Linked DNA regions of Homo sapiens: region 2 is linked to region 1. Evidence: promoter capture Hi-C in human tissues and cell types (Jung and others, 2019). All regions are on one chromosome and are shown on one strand. Each heading gives the region's core, a stretch centred on a gene start or on the middle of the fragment in contact. The rest is flanking DNA. Distances are from core to core; before and after follow the strand shown. Region 1 holds the start of UTRN (utrophin). Region 2 overlaps UTRN (utrophin).

Region 1 (2,768 bases), core at 170-2,669:
CCTCCTCCTCGAAAAACGCACTGGAATGAGTCCCTTTCATAATCTGAGGCTTGGAGGAAAAAATCCTTTGAACAACCTGCCATCTGAAAGTTGCACAGCCTTCAATTGGTGCTTTGTTGGTTTTTAAGTGGCCTTGAGCAACCACAGCCTCGGACCCCGGGCCAAAGCGGGGCATGAATTACCTTGTCAGTTGCAGCAAGAGATCCCCAGAGTCCGGAAAAGGAGAGCCGGCGACTGCGCGGGACTACACACCAATGGGGCGCCCCCCTCCTCCTGTCCCCTCAGTCTCTCCAGGGCCGCTGCCAGGGAGCTTGGCGATCGCGCCACACTCTCCGGAGCCCCACCCTTGGGAGCAGCAACCACCCAGAGGTCAAGCACGTTCCCCGCCGGGCGGCTGGCTGGGAAGCGCTCCGCTGGCCGCCGACCACACAGCCACCCTCTGCCCACCCTCTCCTGTGGACACCGCCGGAGCCCCGCCTTCCCCGGGCCCGGGTGTCTGTGACAGACTCTCCTAAGAGGCCACGTCCCCTCTTGCAAATCACTGGCCCAGCGCCCTGCACCGCGCGATGCACGGAGGGCGACTCTGTCACCCCGGCGGGGAGGAAGATTAGGGGAGCAGGGAGGCAGCACAGAGCTGGTCAGATAAGTTTGGATCGTTCACAACTAGTACGGATCCCAAGGACCTCCACGCCCGAGCTCTCCACGCCTCCGGCATTCTCTCTCGCACCGCGGGGAGCTAAACTGAGGCCCCGAGGAAAGGGCACGCAAAAGTTACTCCCATCTTCGACTCTGGGACTTGGGAAGCAGCTCGGGACGCCGATCCCAGGCGGAAGAACCACAGAAAGAGCCATCCTCCTCCCGGCCCCCGCCCCATTCCCTCGGGGGCTGTAGTCACATTACCAGCCCGAGGCTTCAATAATGCATGGGCTTACCTGCTGCCCGCGGGCCTCCTCGCCTGCCGGTCGCCACCGCCGCACCCCGAGCTGGCCAAGGGCTCCTCTAGGAGTTTGACACGGAGTAACCGCGGGGGTGTGTGCGAGTGTTAGTTTGGTGGTGCGATGTATTTAAAAAAAAAAATAAAGCTTGGAGAAGCAGACACGAACCGAAATTTTAAAAAAAGAAAGAAAGAAAGAGAAATTGACACCCGACTGAAAACGCCCCTTACTTGTGCAATCTTCCTGCCTGGTAGTTCCGCCAAAAACAAAACAGTCAAAGCGCAAACCTGGAAGGGGCGCGCAGGCACCAACTTTGCCAAACGCTACAGAGTTTTCCGTTTGCAGAAATGACCCAAAAGAAGGGGGGCGCCGCTCCCCGTGATTCCCCAATCGGCTTCTGGAGCCAGAGGCTCCTCCTCGCCCCTCGGCGGGAGAAAGCCCGCGGCCGGCTGCTGCTGCCCGCTTCCCTGCTCCGAGGAAAAACGACTCCACAACTTTGTGCGCGAGAGAGGCTCGCTCCTTCGGCGGCTCCTCCTCCTCCTCCCCGCTGCGGGCCTGCCCCTTTGTTGGAGCCGAGCGCTGGAGGCGGAGGAGGGAGGGTGGGGCGCAGGACCGCTGGGTCGCGCGTTGCCGCCCCCACCCCCCGGGAAGGGGCTCGCCTCCGGGCAGCCAGGGGTCCGCTCTCCAGATGAGAAGGGTGCAGATCAGCGCCAGCCCTCCGGCCCGCGCCTCTGCAGCGCTCCGGCTCCCCCTCGGCGCTCTCGCCCCGCCGCCGCCGGCCCAGCAACTTTGTTCCGGAAGATCAGCCCCACTACGTTCCCGGGTCAGCGTCTGCCGGGCCTCGGCGGTCACCGCGGCCACCGCGTCGGGAACTTGGCGCCCCAAGTCACCTGACTGCGCGCCCCGTCAATCAGCGCCGGCCCTGCGCGCCCTCCCAGCCCGCAGCAGCCCGGCTCGGCGCTTGGCTGGCCTGGGGCGCGCGCTCCAGAGTGAACCGTGCGTGCCGGGAGCCGGGAGTCCGGAGACCGAACCAGAATGGATGCCTCGAGCAGACACAATTCCCCTTATTCAGATTATCCGAAAATGTGAGTCACGTCCCCTTAGGCAAAACAGGTCTCTAGTTAGGGTGATATTTTTTTAAGAGATAAATTCCAATCTGCCTTCCAACTCACCCCATCTCAGTTTGCTGACGTTGCTGATTTTTTTTTTACCCCTAGTTCCAACCGTATATTTATTTTACATTATTTCTCTAGTGTCGTTGTTAATATTGAAAAAGAAGTTTTCTCTTACATTAGTTTGTATTACAAGTAGTGTTTGCGCTGACCTTATTTTTCTGTTTTCCAATATGCACACACAAACGCACATCTGTTATAGAGCCTGTTCCAAGCTTGAGAGGTTGACCAAAAAATATCTGGGAAGAAATGAGCTCGTGATGTGTGTGCATTTTTCTTATTTACACATTTCATTGCTCGTGTGTTCCTGTGATTCTTTTACACGATCAGCACACGTGGGAGGGGAAAGAAAACAGCAACCTGAGTTCCTAGTTCGTATTAACAGAGAAAAGGATGGTTGATACTGGAGCGCCGGTTTATTGCTGGCTTAATATTTGAGTTAATTTACGCGGCAGTAAAGATTAAACCACTAGGGGCCTTAAACTAATTTTCAGAAAGAGTTTACTCGCCTTTTGTTATAGTGAAAGTTTCCCCCATCCATCCCTAAGTGCTCCAGGGAGGGGGCAGGTAGGAGATTCCCAAAAGAGACTCTTCCTTGTAAGGTTTCTAGGACAGTTTCCTTCCTTTTGATGATTTTCTACGTATAAGCCAAATAAAATCC
Region 2 (2,768 bases), core at 159-2,658, 420 kb before region 1:
AAAGTGGGGCCTACCAATCTGTGGCTTAACAAGCCCATCAGGTGATTCTGATTTACACTATAGGTTGAGCCCATATCCTCCAGAGACTGGCTTAATTGGCCTGGGTAAATATAACTGAGCATTGATATCTTTTATATGTCCTAGGAAAGTGCAGCCAGAATTGAAAACAACTGATCTATACCAATTCTTTCAATTAATAGCCTCACTGAGTCCAGTGAGATTAAGTGATTTTTCCAAGCTATTAGGTTTTATGCTATTCCTGTGTTCTCCCAAACAACAAAATAAAGAGACATGATTTCTTCCCTGATCATACAGCAAGTATGGAACAGAGATGGTCTAGAAGTCAACTATCTCAATCTCCATTGTTACCCATTAGGTTTTTTTCTCTCTAATAATGTTAAAGGCTATTTAATTTATTTCATCAACTTTAACCCTTACATTCTCAACTGGGAACAAAAATTGGTTCTTGGGGTGAAAAAAATCTTAGATATGGATTGTGACCTTCCAAAATCAGCCTACCCAACAAAATCTTTTGTATTAATTTCTCTCATTAGGAAGAAATTTATAGTTAAAGCTATTTAATTTAATTTGAATTTAATTTTTGTAATTGAAAAGGAGGGTAATGATAAAAAGGTTGAGAAAAAATGCTTTAAAGGGTTTTACAGGCATACTACAATCCAGGATTGCTGTGCTCTATGTGCTATGTATAGTCCTATTAGTAGCTATTTGTTGCAAGATACTTGGAGCCAAATAATGTTTACAGTATAGGTTCCTGGCTACTCTTTATGCTGTAATTTCACTCTGTCTATCATGGGCAGTATTAGAAAATACACTGGGTTTTCACACACTATCAGTATTTTACCTGGATTGTAGTGGAGAATTTAGCATATTGATGCATGCAATGGGAAAAAAAAGAATTTTGTTAAAATTTGTAAATGTTCATAAAAATCCCAGATATACAGTGGGATGAGTATCTCTGGGTAGGTAAAAAAAATTACGGAAAATTTTCCCTCACAGTCAGTAGCTTTGTTTGATATTTACCAATAAGTATATGATGACATACTTGAAATGTATTTGCAGAATGTCATTGGAATATTATAATGAGAATACGTAATCAAGTTTAGGACTAAATGAAAGATGCTGTCTCATGTATGCTTTAAATAGAGAATTGATTTTTTTTCAAAATAAAGTTATTTTTCCTTAAAAAATAAAATAAACTGCCAGGCATATAGTAAGTAAATGAAAGTAAGAGAGGGAAGGAGGGATGAAAACTCAGGTTTGCTTAAACTACACTGTGCCTCTCATGTTCCTCTACCGTAAATAAGAGGACTGGACTCTTATTTCTTAGGGTTCTTTCAGTCCAGTAATTGACAATTCTAAATTATACATGAATATACACTAAATAAAGACTTTTCCTGATCAATGGAATATGACAGCAGAGGAAAAGGACATTTTCAAGGACTTAAAAAAAAAAAAAGCTGCCCTGAAATATAGAGCAATCTCTTACACACCCATAAGAGATTTTGATTTCAAGAAAAGACTCAGGATAAGTTAGAGACTTAGGTTTATGTTCGAACACTGGCCAAAAACTATTAAATAAACTCTTAGGAAGGGAATTCTTGGATGCAAGGCTAAGGTTAAACTATGCTTAGACTATTCGATAATTATGACTGATGATGTTCAGTAAGATAAATAATTACGGGTAGGTACCACACTTCTTTAAATATTGCTCTAAATCTACAAATGCATAATCATTAGCCCTAACTGTAATAATGTAGATTTATATTAGTATGAATTAATGTTAATTATATATATTTTATATAATATTTATAGTAACGTAATTTTAAAACATTACTCTTGGCAATTGGTAAAGAAGGTTGCTTTTGACAGAATATACATAATTAAATAAAATTATATACTGCCCTTCAGCACTTTACTTTTCCTAAATTACTTTCATTTCCACTATTTCATTTGATTGTCAGAACAATTCTGTGTAGAAATGGAACTACTTGCTACAGTTTGAATGTCTATGTGTCACCAAAATTTACAGGTTGAAATCCTAACTCCCATAGTGATGGTATTGGGAGGTGGGTCTTTGGAAGGTGATTAGGGCATGAGTGAGGAGCTGTCATCAATGGGATCAGTATCATATAAAAGACTACCTTCCACTATGGGAGGACACAGTGAGATGACATCATCCATGAACCAGACAGTGGGCCCTTGGCAGACACCAAATCTACTAGTGCACTGATCTTGAACTTCTCCGCCTTCAGAACTGTAAGAAATAAATTTCTATTGTTTATAAGCCACCCAGTTTATAGTATTTTGTTACTGCAGCCCAAAGGAACTAAGATACTACTTATTTCCATACACTGAAGCTTGGGTAAGTCAAATGACTTTTTCAGGGTCACCCAGGTCATCAGTGACAGAGCCAGCCTTTAAATAAAAGTATTCTCATTCTAGCTCAGTGCCTTTTCTACTACCAGTACCTCACTCACACCTCTAACCCAAATTATCACACCTATGAGGAGCCAACAACCCTCCTTACCTGCCTCCAGTGCACCCTAAAACCCATGGCCACACACAATTCACAGTAGATTATCTACATTACAGATCTTGTGTCTCACATTAAAAAATGTGACACTGGACTTTCAAACCTTTACTCACAAAGCAACAGCAAATGTCACAACCTATAAAGAAAATATGAAGAATTCATGTTTTTGGGTTTTTTTGTTTGTTTTTGAGATGGAGTCTCACTGTGTCGCCAG

What was found. The method cuts DNA at HindIII sites, captures the fragments that hold promoters and counts their contacts. A contact is called where the count stands out against the background at its distance.
Region 2: a fragment that was not itself captured here is called in contact with the fragment with the promoter of UTRN in region 1 in 2 of the 25 tissues and cell types used here (hippocampus and spleen).

The regions. Positions count from the first base shown.
Region 1 is chr6:144,283,986-144,286,753 of GRCh38, reverse strand. UTRN (utrophin) reads right to left here and starts at 1,419. Exons shown (of 75, transcript NM_007124.3): 1 at 933-1,419. LOC124901418 reads right to left here and starts at 256. Exons shown (of 1, transcript XM_047419641.1): 1 at 1-256. The coding sequence starts at 83. RefSeq lists silencers at 1,480-1,579, 1,790-1,849 and an enhancer at 1,980-2,049. The HindIII fragment of the contact is 2,482 bases long and covers 1-1,702 here.
Region 2 is chr6:144,704,935-144,707,702 of GRCh38, reverse strand. All of the region lies in intron 53 of UTRN (utrophin), which reads right to left. Among named protein-coding and RNA genes, the nearest start is that of SNORA98, 300 kb to the right of the region's middle. The HindIII fragment of the contact is 4,616 bases long and covers 1-2,768 here.